Regions from separate parts of the Homo sapiens genome. Here region 2 is linked to region 1. The links are contacts of gene promoters, found by promoter capture Hi-C in blood cells and fetal thymus (Javierre and others, 2016). All regions are on one chromosome and are shown on one strand. The core of a region is centred on a gene start or on the middle of the fragment in contact, and the rest is flanking DNA. Distances in the headings are between cores, read along the strand shown. Region 1 holds the start of ISM1 (isthmin 1). Region 2 overlaps ESF1 (ESF1 nucleolar pre-rRNA processing protein).

Region 1 (7,378 bases), core at 1,252-3,751:
GCAGTGTTAGATTGGTGGGTGCCCCAGTCTATAGGATGGTGGCATCTTCAACTTCCGCATAGAAATTCCCTCAGTCTGTCACTGTACTTATCTACCCACGGGAGAAGGTGAGAGAACCCACAAAGTTAGGACATTTTTAGAAATGTCTCAAAGTTAAAACAACTTTAAGCTTTGGGGTGTGTACTTTTCTACTGTTTTGTAATTGCGTGCAATAATCACCTTGCTTTAGTCTATCCTGGTAGAGACAAAATTTGGTGTAATCAAGAGTTTGGAATGTCTGAACTTTGACAAGTTTTTTAACCTCTCTGTACCTCAGTTTTTGCATCTGTAAATGAGGCTATATTAACAGTACCATGTCTTGTAAGATTATGGTTAAATTAAGTGAGTTAAATTCTGTAAAGTACTTAAAACGGTGGCACGTAGTAAACACAATGGAAGTGTTTTATTAGTTTTCTCTTTACGGTAAAGTTTTTCGCAATAAATTGTATAAAGATGTAAAAAGTGAATTATCAAAGACAATGAATATAAAGGCCTTTGGGAACAATGAATAATGCTTATTTCATTTTATTTATTTATTTATTTATTTTATTTTATTTTATTTTATTTTATTTTTTTTTTGAGACGGAGTCTCGCTCTGTCGCCCAGGCTGGAGTGCAGTGGCGCGATCTCAGCTCACTACAACCTCCCGGGTTCAAGCAATTCTCCTGCCTCAGCCTCCCGAGTAACTGGGACTACAGGCGTGCGCCACCACGCCCAGCTAATTTTTGTATTTTTAGTAGAGACGGGGTTTCACCATGTCGGCCAGGATAGTCTCCAACACCTGGCCTGAGGTGATCCACCCGCCTCTGCCTGCTAAAGTGCTGGGATCACAGGCGTGAGCCACCGCGCCTGGTTTGAGCAGATTTTAGGAGCCAGAGAATCCCCTCTGCCTCCTGGGAAAATCCCTGCTTGCTTTTGCCTATGCTCCAAGTTTACAGTTGTCCCACCCCTAGACTCAAGGAAAGGCGCTAACATAGCGGCAGGAAATGCCTAGCTGGGCAATTCTATTCCTAAGTCAGAACTCACATTATGTCTGACCGTCCACTACGCCCTCTCCTTGCCCTGAAGTTGAAATGGATAAACAGAATCCCATTGCTAAAGCGACCTTCAACGGGGAAGATCCTTGGGAGAAAGACTTTGCTACAAGTTTAAAAGCCCCAGGTAACCCTGGCCCAAATCACTACCGGTGCCTTCACTCTGCACCTTCCCCATGACCAAGGGGGCACAAGGGGGGAGGGGGGAACCTCAGGCGAGGCTCCCGGAGGAAGAGGAACACTGGAAGCAAGGGAACCCTGAGGGTGAGGAGGGGATGCCTGGCTATTCTCCTTGGGAAATTATGTCCTGACCTTTGGCATTGCTTCCTAAAGGGGTAGACTCCCGGAGTTCTTTCTCCCAAAGACTTCAGGGATATCATCCTATAAAGTCTCCTTGCGTCCCTCCAGCCTCGAGTAACATTACTCAGCCTCCGAAGGGCAACGAAAGACTGGTAGCACCCCCAAGCAAGCACATTCTCCACACTTCCTCTGCTCATCCCAAACCTCGCTCCTTCCCACCTCCCCACCAACCCCGCACCTGACCCGTGACAGACAGAACTGAAGGAGCGCAGCCCGCAGACCTGGAAGCCGGGTGCAGCCTCCAGGCACGTGCCCCCGCTCCGCCTCTGCCTAAGTCAAGTGGCCCGGGCAAAACTACTGCCAAAACAGTTGCTCTTAGGTGGGGCAGGGGACCTGCCTCCCTGCATCCACCCGGCACTAGCTCAGCACCCCCGCCCCACAAACCGTCCCCGCAGCCGCGCACGGCCCTCTCCGGCGGCGCACTCACCTGCAGCTGGGCTTGGCTGGCGTTGCCCGCGGCCGCGTCGGGCCCGTCGGCGGCTCCCGAGCCGCGCAGCACGGTGATGTGCAGCGTGAGCAGCAGCAGCCCCAGCAGCAGCAGCAGCTCGGCCGCCAGGCGCACCATCCTTTTGAGACGCGCGGCTTTAGGACCCGGCGCGGCGGCCGGCGGCGGCGGCGGTGACGCCGGGGGAGGAGGAGTAGGAGCCCGGGAGCCCGGCAGCGCGGCTCCCGCCTCGGCTCCCGCCAGGGCTCCGCTTCCCGGGCCCGCGGGGCTGGCGCTGGGCGCGGCGGGGTGTGCGGGGCCGGGGGAGCAGGAGCTGCCGGCGCCGCCGCCGCCGCCGCCGCCGCACCACGGCGGAGCCACCGCGAGGCCGGGGGTGTCCAAGCCGGCTGCGGAGCAAGCCCCGGCGCTGCCTGGCGGCGGCGGCGGCGGAGACGGAGACTGGGTCCCGGGACAGCCCGGGACCCGGGCCGGGCCGGAGGCCACCCTGCTGGCAGGGGGCTGCGGGGTCGGCGGCGGGGCGGGCGCAGCCGAGCCCCCGAGCGCACATGGGCGCCCCAGATGTGGCCGCGGCGCCGCAGCTGGAGCGGGAGCGGCCGCCAGAGAAGCGCGGGGAGGAGGAGGAGGAGAAGGAGAAGGAGGAGGAGGAGGAGGAGGAGGAGGAGGAGGAGGAGGAGGAGTAGGAGGGCTTCAGCTGCGGCCGGGAGTTACCTCCACGCTTGGCGCCCCCGCCCTCGCCGCCCCGAGCCACTCACCCGGCAAGCCACCTCCACTACTCTCCGCGCTCCTCGGGGCCGCCTGCCGCGCCGCCCCGCACTCGGAGTCCCGGGGAGGGCCGGTTCCAGATGGGGGCCCCGGGCACACCGAGGTTGTCACGGTTTGGCGGTAGCCGGGGCGCCCTCGGCGGCAGCGTCAGCCTGCCGGGCTGTACCAAGTGCCCGCTGCCGAGGTCGCTGTGACGGGCGCGGGTAGAGCCCTTGTGCACACTGAGGCTCGGGGCTGTGGGTGGGTGGGGTGGTGCCTGGGCTGCTTTAGAAACCTTTATTGGCAAACTGGAGCTGGAGTTGCAGTGATGGAAAACGGAGGGGGCGCCGGACAAGCCATGCGTCTGCCTGCGACCCCTGCCTGAAGCAGTCGGGGGAGAGGAGGAGTGCCAAAGTGTCGTTCCGAAGGGTCTTGACACTTGCTGGGCCGCCCGCTAGCCGGGCACGGCTGTTCGCGGATCCGCGGCGCCCCGTAGAGCCTGGGAAGGGAGGGGAGTCCGACTCTCTAGGCGTTCGTCTGGTCACGGGCGCAGGTGTTGGCTGGAAGCTGCAGAGACGCAGTGCCCGCGGCTCAGGCGCTCAGGAACTCGGAGTGAATCTCAGCTCTAGTGGGCTTGCCTCTGTGGGGGGCTCATCCCGGGGGTGCCGCGCCCAGAGGGGATTTGGGGGCTGGCGTCGCGCAGCTGTCGATCCCGGGCCACCGCCTCATGACCGCGCTGCAGCCTCGGGCTCCCGCGTGCGGCTCATGCCTTGCAGTGGGCGGTTGGCGAATGGAAGGGCTCTGGGATCCGGCTGAGGGCGCGGAGTCCGAGCGTCAGATGCTAGAGCGAACTGTGTCGGTCCGTGGCACCGCGCACTTCCCTCCTTGACCTTGCTCGGGCTCCCGCCTTACCGAAGTGACTCGGAGTAGCGGACGCTCAGTCCGGCCGGGACTTTTATACTGCGCTTCCCCTCCTCCTACCCGTTCCCTCCCTTCCTCCTCCCCAGCGCCGGCCCAGCCCTTCCCTCCCAGCGAGCCAAGACCTAGTCCACGCGTTCGCACACAGCCGCGTCGCACATTTCCAAGCCTTTCCCGCGTCCCGGACCCCAGTGCCTCCGGGATGGAGCCTCCGAATTCTCCCTTGGTGAATGAAATTAAATAAATAATCAACTCTTTCTTGACGGCACGCCTCCCTTTCCCCCTCCCCAATTTCCTACCTTCCTTCTCCGCGTCCTAGAAAGATTTAAGATTCTTAATTCAACTGCTTTCGAGTTCTCGCAAGGCATCTCAACCAAGTATTAACCAAATTAAGGCAAACCCTTGCGCCTTTGCGAAGGTTCCTCCGGTCACCGCGGTACTTTGCAGAATTTAAATAGCGGTAGTTAAGGTAGGGTCTGCTGGTTGGGCTTATTTGTGCCCGGGAGAGGAAGGGCTTGCTGCCTCCTTAAAGATGCCTGAAGCATCTTTAAAATTCTAACTAACTCCAGCATCTTATTAATAAATTGGCAGCTGTTTATAGAGTCTGCTATATTTTTTCCTTTTCATTATTTTTTTTTGGGTGGGGAACGGTGCGAGGGAGGAGGGGAGATGTTTGGAGGGGTGCTTGCTTTGGATTTTTAGGCAGCCGGGCCTGTCAGACATCTTATTTCTATCTCTAGGCTCTAAAATGCCAATAATTGTCACTGGAGTGCGGGTCGGGGGGAGTGGGGGGAAACGCGAAACAATAACCGTCCGTATTTCAGATGGGAGATCAAAGAGGGGATCCCAGCAGCTTTTAAATCCTGGAAGGATCCTCCTGTGTGTTTTCTAATTAGGATCACTTAAAAGGGAAAGGGCTGGAGAATCAGCGCCGAAATAGAATGTATAAATTAAGATGGCAAACTAGAATCCCACAGCCAAAGAGTTTTAAGGATTGTTCTAACCTCCAGTTGTGCCAGATTATGATACGGGCTCGCAGGAACAAATGACTTTCCTATTGCCAGAGGCAGGCTGGTCTGAATTAGGATCCAGGGGCCGCTGTGTCCTGCCCTTTCATCACACACAGTCTCCACATGTAAACCTCAGCTGCTTCTCCTCTCATCTAAAAGTAACAGTTTTGGACCCAAGGCAAAAATGACCTTTAAAAAACTCTGGAAAGAAACCTTTGCAATGAATGTAAATTCTTGTAAAATAATTTGTAAATGGAGATTTGGAGATCAAAGTCTTTGTAAAATGTTGTAAAAATTGTAAATTGAATTTTGGGGACAGATGTCTTTATAAAATGTTGAACAAATGTATGAATGAATCCTATTAAAATCCCTTCACGCTGAGAGATCCCCATTCCAGGTGAATTTATGTTCCAGTAAGCACATATAACGAGTATTGATAAACACCCACGCTCTGATTCCAGTTGCCGAACCAGGCTTGCCAGCAGGGCTCTGTTTTTGAGTTAGGGAACACGGGCTTACAATTTTTGTGGAAAAACAATTACAAATTTAATAGACTAAACCAATTAAGTTTCAAGCACATTTATGAAATTGTACCAATAGCTGATAAAAATGTTTAAAATCCTACCTCCTTCAGCAGAGCGTCCAGAGCACCCTATTCATATCGTTATTACTGATTTTATGACACTTGGGGCACTTGTGTCTGTTTGCATGTCTGTTTTCCCACTAGACCTTGATTGGGATCACCTTTGTGGTAGAACATTTCAGAGCATCGCCCCACTCCCCACCTCCATCCCAGTATCTAGTTTTCTTTCTGGGTTCATGGCTATGAGACATTTTCTAGGTATACTTGGATCTAGGTTTGGGCTGTGAAGAGCTTTTTTCCTTCCAGGTTGACCATAAAACATCCTGAGTGATTATCTGCACACACTCTCTCTTTCCTTTTTTTTTTCTTTTTCATTCATTCATTCTTTTTTTTTTTTTGACAGAGTCACTCTGTCACCCAGGCTGGAGTGTAGTGGTGCGATCTCAGCTCACTGCAGCCTCTGCTTCCCAGGTTCAAGCAATTCTCCTTCCTCAGCTTACGGAGTAGCTGGGATTACAGAATCCTGCCCCCACGCCTGGCTGATTTTTGTACTCTTTAGTAGAGAGAGATTTTCACCGTATTGGCCAGGCTGGTCTCAAACTCCTGACCTCAAATGATCCACCCGCTTCGGCCTCCCAAAGTGCTGGGATTACAGGCATGAGCCAACGTGCCCAGCCCTCTCTTTCCTTTCTACATGGCAAAGGACTCTGAGGTGAAAGGAACTCAAATTGAGTTACTGCTCAAAAGAGAAAAATTGGACCAGGAATATCTGCATTGAACCTTGAGCAAGTGAGATAAAACTTTGTTCATAGACATTGTGATGTAGGGATGTTTGCACAGCAGCTGGTATAATAGTATATACATCCTGACAAGTATAATCTTTGAGACAATGCCTTGCACAGAGTAATTCTCAATTAGTGTTTTTAAAATGCATGTAACAAATCTGGTATTTGTTTATACCCCAAGTAATAGATTACCTTTCCTAGGAGTGCTTGTACTATAGGTGTCTGACATTAACTTTTATAACCATTCTGCCTCTTGATTGTACTATTCTCACGTAGATTTTGTCTTTCATTATTGGTCCCATTTATCTTACAGGCAGGCTTATTTGACTGGAATATTTTAAGGAAGTAAGAGAAATTAATAAGCCAGAACACCTGTAGTTACTATCATTGCAGAGAACCTTGTGGCCTATTATGACTAGGATTTTATTGTTTTTATTTTATTTTGCCAAAGAGTGGTACAACATAGCAAAGAGTAGTTTCAATGTAATCCTTAATTTTTTTTACTATGGAAAGTTTTTAATATATACAAAAGTAAAGAGAATAATATACTAAATCCTTACTCATAAGCCAGCTTCAACAAAACTTATGGCCAATCTTGTCTTACCTGCATTCTCAGTATTTTCAAAAATTTCCTCCGTTTCAGATTATTTTAAGCAAATTCATGATATGTCATTTCATATGTACATATTTCAGTATGCATCTCAAAAAGGTAAGGGCTCAATTAAGCAATGTTTTTTAAACACATGCATATTGAATCTGAGCTTTAAAACAGATTTGAGAAGTCACAGCCAGAGACGTTTTCTGGGTGTGAGAATGATTAGTATTTAGGGATTGTGGTGGAGGCTGTTCTGTGTTCCCCAAAACCTGTTTCTTCCTGGGCATTCTAGTACACTTCATTTCTCAGTATCCTATGCTCGTGACTGAATTCTGGCCAATAGAATATGGGTGGATTAATGTGTGTCCCTTTCAGATCTAGCCCATAAAAACTTCCTGTTCATGATCTTTTCTTTTTTACCCCTGTCTGCTGGCTGGATGTTTTTGCCCAGGGTAACCTTAGAGCAATGATCAGTCTGGGTCTCTGGAGCAGAGTCCCTACCTGACCCCTACGTTTGCCCAAGAACACCCTGGCTGGGCTATTGTGTAATTGAGAAATAAACTTTTTTAAAAAATGTGTGAAGCCATTAAACTTTTGTGGTTTGTTCCAGGAACTTTCATTACCCTAACTAGGGGGCAATGTTCTGAGGCTGGAGGGATGGCAAACTTTTTCTTTAGAGGGCAAGATGTTAAATATTTTTTGTCTTTGTGGGCTGTAAGGTCCCTTTGGCAATTAATCAACTCTGGTGTTGCAGTGGGAAACCAGTCATAGAAAATACATGAAGGAATGGGTATAGCTGTGTTTTAATAAAATTTCGTGTATACAGCTAGGCAGCTGGACCACATGACTTAGTTTGTCAACCGCTGTC
Region 2 (7,378 bases), core at 1,374-3,873, 530 kb before region 1:
AACCCATTTGTTTTAAATGTTTGGCTTTTGCAGGAAGTGGTGGTAAGAACGAATGAAGTTTACTGGTGTATCATATGACAAGTGGTTGGGAGAACTCAATTGATTTGGCCTGGAGAGGAAAAGTCTAAAAAGTGATTTTAACAGCTATTTTTAAATACTTGCAGAATATGTAAATGAAGACTTAATCTCTTTTATTACCTCACAGGTTAGCAGTACTGCCAGTGGATAAAAGTTGAAGGAAGGTAGATTTTAACGTAATAATATAAAGAGGAATTCTCTATATTATTAGAATTGTCTCGCAGAAGAACTGAAGGCTGCTTTAAGGGGTTGAGCTCTCTGTGTCAGTAAATCTCCACCATAAGGCTACATAATTATGCTACTCAGAGATGTCTGTTAAGAAATATTTTACTTGAGTCCCTTGACTTTATGATTCTAAGAAATGTTGAATTCTGTCTTTTAAGTTGAATATATTGTAGTTTAATTCTAATCTTAGAATGAGCTTATTGAATATATTTTAATATGAACATTTTTAAATTGAAGTGTTCAGTTGTCTGAGAAAGCAGATCTAAAATAAACTGGATTGAGGTGTTTTATAGCAAATATTTCAGAAATATATAATGCCAGTTGTAAGGTACAGATATATGATACAGGTTCCCACACTAAGTGGACCACATCTAGATTGTGTCTTTATTAACATAATTATGAAACCGGGCACAGGGGCTCACACCTGTAATCCCAACACTTTCAGAGGCCAAGGTGGGTGGATTACTTGAGCCTCAGATGTTCGAGACCAGCCCGAGTAGCATGGCAAAACTGTTCCATCTCTACAAAAAAATACAAAAATTAGCTGGGCATGGTGGCACACGCCTGTAGTCCCAGCTACTGGGGAGGCTGAGGTGGTAGGATCACCTGAGCTCAAGGAGGTTGAGGCTGCAGTTAGCTGTGATCATGCCACTGCACTCCAGCCTAGGCAACAGAATGAGACCCTGTCTCAAACAAACAAACAAACAAAACATAGTAATGTAGGGCAAATACCTAAAAGTGGTATTTACACCTGTTATCTGTAACTGGAAGTTATAAGCATTGCTTATATTTCCTCAGATAAACCCCACCTTGGTCATGGTACCTTATCTTTTTATATATTCCCAGCTTAATTTAGTAATATTTTATTAAAAATATTTGTACTTGTGGCAAAGAGGAATATGATCTGTAGTTTTCATTCCTCGTATTGGTTTTTGGTATTAGGGTAATGTTGACCTTATGAAGTGAAAATGTAAAATGAAAGATTATCATCTGTAATTCCACTATCCTAATTCAACCACTGGTTAAGAAGATTACAGTTTAATTTACCATTTCTCTGTTGTTGAATATGCAATCAGATTTCTAATCTTTCACTACAGTGGACTTATAACATTGAAAAAAAAATAGGACAGATCTCAAACCCACAAATAACAAGCTTTTCTTAAATTTCTTCATTTTCATGAGCAGCCAAGTAATTGGCTTGCCTTTTTAGGGCCTTTTAATTTTAAAAACTTTTAAAACAGAGGTGTGTTTTTCATCTCTCCCAGCCTAGAAATGTTTCCAAGCATGTCAGGACTAGTAGAGAACAACCAGGCCACAATGAGAAGCTGATGCCTAGCATTCAGGCTTAACTCACTAGTTAGTTACGTGACTTCCTTGCTCACACAGCAACTCTACATGTGCTGTAGATCAACCTGTGGTTCTCTCACAAGCTGTTAAAACTACCAGTGTCAAAACCTCAAATGTTAAATCCCAGATGCCAAGTATCTGGGATGTTATAAATAACCTATAGCTTTTTCCATATTTTGAATTATTTTCATAGGATAGTTTCCCAGAAATAGAGTTACTAAGAAAGGGCATGAATACTTTTTGTGTCTTGAAGTTATTGCCAAATTGCTTTCTGGAAGTGTTGTACCAGCTTATAATACCTTCAACAATCAGTAAGAGTGTCAGTTTCACGGAATTATCGTCAACATTGGGTATATATTTTTTACTTTTAATTGAATAGGGGAAAATTGATATTTTAATGTATGAGTTTCAAAGGTCTTAAACTGTAATATTTTGAAGGCCCCTAATGAGGTATTGTTATCTGTGAATCCTTATGTACATGCACGCATGCACATGCAAGTGTAAAGGGTTTTTCTGTGTGCTATACATATAAGATCATTGAGCAATCTTTCTGTACCTCAGTTTATTCATATGGAAATTGGAACTAATAATACCACTTTCTTGCTTAGAGATACTTACAAACGTTATAAACTACAAAGTACTTTCATGACGTGTATTTCAGTGAATTTATGTCTTAAGAAATGTGTGTTTTCTGTAACAGTTACCCTGAACCTCAGGACTTTTTTGATGTTATGCTTCAGTAAACCACGGAGGGTCAGTATGAGATTATACCGTATCATTCATTGGTTCTGTGGCTTGACTCTCCAAAATATTAACCTCTTCAGGAAAATAAGTACTCTTAATCACTAACATTTATTGTGGTTTGGTTTGATTTTTCAGAAGAAATTCTAGTTTAGACTATTTAAACGTTCTACCTTTTTACATTGGGTTATACAGTATAGTAACATGAGGAGTTTAATTTCTTAAGGGTAAGTATTAAGGGAACTGATAACAGGTTTGTGGGCATAACAACTGGAATGAGCTACTCTTTCTATCAATATTTTAGTTCCTATGGAAATGTAATAATACAATTTTATTAATTAGGATTATAAATAAGTAAAAATGTTGAATTATAAAATTTTTAAAGAAAGTTATACTTAATTATTTTGATGTATGTGAAGTTGTATTTCCTATCTCAATGCGTTGCTAAAGGTATCCTGCCAACTTACTAAGGAGTAGATAAGGTGATGCATATAATTAGCCAGTTGGGCCTTCATCAAGAAATGTACCTCGTTGAGGAATTTCTAATACACGTATAAATGAAGTGTAATCAGTTTTAACTCTTTATATAACTTCCCCTGTATTAATAGTCCAGTTAATCTACATAATATTTTTTGTAGATAATGCAAGCTGAATATAAACAATATATATGAAATTCCATCCAGAAATAAATAATGGCATGTTTGTTTATAATCTTAAATTTTTGATTATGGTAAAAGTCCTGTTTTTCTTAGCTATCTCTGGCCTAATAGATATTAGTGAAATGGATAGCTGGTCTTTTTTCTACTCAGCACTCTACAGAACCCCAACTTCTCTTCCTTACTCCATCAAATACTTACTGAATACCTACTCTGTGCCGGGAATTATTCTATACACTGTGTGAACAAAACATAAAAATCCCTGAACTCACAGATCTTATACTCCGGTGAAGGAGAAACTAAACAGATGACAGATATATAAGAAACATATTTGACCAGGAACTAAAGAAAGTAGAGGTCAGGGAGTGAGCCTGGCCCAGGAAGACTGTGTGAGCAGAGGAAGTAGCATAGGAGTATCCTTGAAGCTATACTTTGTCTCTTGTGTTTGAGGAATCCAAGGAGAACAGTATGACTACAGTGGAGGACAGAAGTAACTGAGATCAGAGAGGTAGTTTGGGGCCAGACATGAAAGCCTTGTAGGCCATTATAAAGACATGAATTTCTGTGACTGAGATGAGAAACCACTGGAGAGTTTTGAGCTCAGGAGCAGTCAAATCTGACTTTTATATTTAACAGGATCATTCTTGCTGCTATAGATAAGTAGATTAAAGTGGGGGGCAAGGACCAAATTGGGGAGATCAATCAAATGGCTGTTGGAGTAATTTTCAGATAATGAAGCTTGTGGATGGAACATGTTTGCAAGGGAGCATCAAGAATTTTTTTTTTCATACATTAAGTTCAAGATGCCCATTGATACCTAAATAGACATGCCAAGGAATCAGTTGGTTATACAGTTAAGAGTACAGGGCTGGTAGAGATATAAATTAGAGAATCTTCATTGTATAAATCTCTGAAAGTGAATAAGAACAACAAGGTAGTGAATATAGGTAAAAAAGAAAGGTTCAAAAGCTGATCCTTGGAGCACTCTAACATCTAGAGGTAGAGGACATGAGCCTGGACCATTCCGAGCAGCTGGAGAGGCTATCAGAGAAGCAGGAGGAAATTCAGAATTGCGGGGTATTCAGCCTGCCAATAAAGAAGGCATTTCAGTGAGAATATGGGTCAATAAAATACAGGCTGAGAATGACCATTGGATTTAGCAGTGTGAAGCTCACTGGTGATATTGAATGGTTTTTGTGGGATGATGGGGGATGAAAGTAGTATGGTTTGAAGGAAGAATGGGAAGAGAAGAATTAGAGACAGTAAGTAGAGGCAACTCTTTTTCTAAAATATTTGATAGAAAGTTGCAAGCACCATGACACGTAAAAAAAAGCACTTCAAAATGTAACTTCCAAAAACTAAGACATGCTTCCATTATAAGCACGTTGCCACTTTCACACCAAGGGAATTGTTAGTCTCAGACTACTAGAGAGATTAACTTATGCCTAGTGGTCCATTATTGGAATGCTAAGCATGTGGAAGTTATTTATATCCTACTGCTCAAAGTTTGATTGCAAAAATTCAAAAAATTGCAACCTCAGGCATAAATGGGTTAAAATGAAAAGATTGCAGCTGGTGGTAGAAGAGTAGGATGCTTGGAAAGTAAGATTGTGGTGGGATTGCAACTTTGGGTAATCACATGACCTGTTTACAATCCTGGCAGTGAATTTCTGAGATGGGATAGAGTGTAGAACCATAGGAGAGGAGGTCAGTGAACTGTGAGGCCAAAGGTACGTTCAGAGGATCATCTGTGTGGATACTGAAGTCACCAAGAATTATGACAGGAGTATTGGAAAGAGTGGCAGTGAGCTAAAATTAAAATGAGAAGAGCATCTGTGGTCATTAGATATCTACATCAGGTTCTGGAAGAATTTGCTTACAAAAAAGATATCTACAATAAGGAAGAGTGTAGTCTATCTAGTATAGCCTGAAAATATGATATTCAGAGTGGAGGCACTGGGGAGGAGGGCCAGCCAGTGGATGGGAATTGGCAGTGAGTCGCAGGGACAGTGGGAGAGAAAAATTCACCTGCTAAAAGAGATAGAGGGGAAGCAGTGTCCTCAGAAGAGAGCTAAGTTTTAGTGAAACTCCACTTAGCAGATAAATGGGTAAGGGGGCTTTTGTTAATGACTAATAACTGACTAGTGAGTAGAACGGCTTTAGTCATTGAGGATGTTCGGCATTGTTTTGGGAGAAGGAATGATTTGGAAATTGTAAACTTCATGTGGTGGCAGATTTAAGTATGAATAAAGGGATTTTGAGATTAGTTTTGATCGTCTTAAAGCTTTCATAGTGGTAGGGATGTGAATGTCATTGGGATATCTTGGCAGGAGCACACAGAGTTCTAGAATACTTACTCTTGGGAAGGAGACATGGAAACCAGAAAACTAGAGGTGCCCCTTACTGTCTCACGCTGGCAAGGACTTCTCTTACTGTCTCACACAGCAAGAGGAGTCCCTTTTTGACTCCTATTCCTTGGGCATGGAGTAGGGGTGTAGCTCTTCCTTTGTTCTGCTTTTTCCTCCTCCACTCTTCACAGTTGTAATTTCATTTTTATTCTGGTATCTGTTCTTTATCCTTCGTCCTCCCCTGCCACATTTATTTTATCTCCATTTCTCTGTTCAGTTGTTCCACTGAGTAGCTTAAACAGAGACATCAGTGACATGCATATGTGGCCATTGTATTATTCATTCTTTTTATTTAGAAGTAAAAATGTTTTTGAATTAGTTGGGCATTCATTTTGTTAGGCAGCCCAGTTTCAAGCATTTTAATTTTTAGATGTCTCAAAACCTGTTCACTGTTTAGTTTTGGCTCCATTTTCATTTATTGCCAATGTGCTCATTATTTGAAATATATTCAGAAAAATTTTTTTTGGCCAGAACTTTTAAAATAACCAGATGTTTAAAATTTTGAATCGAGTATAGAAGAGGGCATTAAATGGAAAACCTGAACTTAAAAATAAGCTAAAAGAATTTGTAGTTTGCCTCAGATTTTGGTGGTGGGGAGGAAACCAGGTCACAGTGCACTCTTGTAACTTGTACGAAGTCACACAGCTGGTAAGTGGCTAAAATTTTAAAACCTAAGCGTGAGCTCCTTCCTTGAATCATCCAGTTAACAGGTTGACTATGAGGCGTTTGTAAGGTAATAAGCTATAACTTCATACTGTGCAAAAAGATTGGAGTCATGTTTGAAATGTGTAATAAAAATGAGAAGCACTTAAGAGTTATCTAAAAATGATGCTAATACATTTCCTCCATGTGATTGCTGGTAATTTTCTCAGTGCTTCTTGAATTATTTGATAGACTGTTTTCTCTCTTAATAATATTGATTTATTGTTATTTTTATTTTTATTTTATTTTATTTATTTATTTTGAGACATTCTTCTGTCGCCTGGGCTGGAGTGCAGTGGTGCTATCTTGGCTCACTGCAACCTCCGCCTCGTAGGTTCAAGTGGTTCTCCTGCCTCAGCCTCCTGAGTAGCTGGGACTACAGGCGTGGGCCACTACGCCCAGCTAATTTTTGTATTTTTTGTAGAGACAGGGTTTCACCATGTTGGCTGGCCGATCTCTTGACCTTGTGATCCACCCACCTCAGCCTCCCAAAGTGCTGGGATTACAGGCATGAGCCACCACGCCCAGCCGATTTAATTTTTAAAAAGAGACTTTCCAAGAAGCTTTTTAAAAAGATTTAACTCAAAAAGCAAGGATATTTTTCTACTAGTAGTTTCAGAAAGTGCTAAAATTGCAATGCCTTATGAAGTTTCAGGTTAATTGATCTGGTTCCCCCCCACATCCCTGCACAGGATTCCAGTTAAAATATGTAAATCAGCAAGATCCTCTGGTTGCAAAGATCTAGAATGATTCTGTTAATACAGTCCTTCCCGCTGTTTGCATGTGTAGCCACCGTTTCTAGACTATACTGTTAATACCTTTTTTTTCTTTTTATAACTATGCCTTAAACTTGCAATCTGCCACAAGTGAGCTCAAGAAAAGAAAACTTGTCACATGTATTGTTTTCCCATAGCCCACAGCTATGCTGATTTGTTTGAAGTTGTGAATTCTTTGGTCTGGAAAGCAAAACTTTCGCTATTCTATTTGTGGTTGTCCTTCATTATTCTATCTGTATTCTAACTGTCTGGCTAGTAAGCTGTCACTTTTCGTTGCACATGTTCCGTGTGTTATTTTGACAGAACTCATTCATACTACTTGCTTTCATCAGTTTCATTATTGCAAAATTGAAAAGTTGGGCCCTGATGTTATGCTGTAGGTTCTTCATAAAGTTTTGCTAAATGGATAACATAATAACCTTTTATTACATTTTCTCACAGATAC

The links. Contacts are between HindIII fragments. The CHiCAGO score rates a contact against its expected background, and 5 or more counts as called.
Region 2: a contact is called between a fragment that was not itself captured here and the fragment with the promoter of ISM1 in region 1, in 2 of 17 cell types (activated CD4 T cells and naive CD4 T cells). The highest score is 6.7, in activated CD4 T cells.

What each region holds. Positions count from the first base shown.
Region 1 is chr20:13,216,397-13,223,774 of GRCh38, reverse strand. ISM1 (isthmin 1) reads right to left here and starts at 2,501. Exons shown (of 6, transcript NM_080826.2): 1 at 1,861-2,501. The coding sequence starts at 1,998. It also overlaps a transcript of TASP1 not described here. RefSeq lists silencers at 2,070-2,139, 2,599-2,718. The HindIII fragment of the contact is 8,964 bases long and covers 172-7,378 here.
Region 2 is chr20:13,751,031-13,758,408 of GRCh38, reverse strand. The region is part of intron 9 of ESF1 (ESF1 nucleolar pre-rRNA processing protein); the gene reads left to right. Among named protein-coding and RNA genes, the nearest start is that of ESF1, 30 kb to the left of the region's middle. The HindIII fragment of the contact is 2,329 bases long and covers 1,459-3,787 here.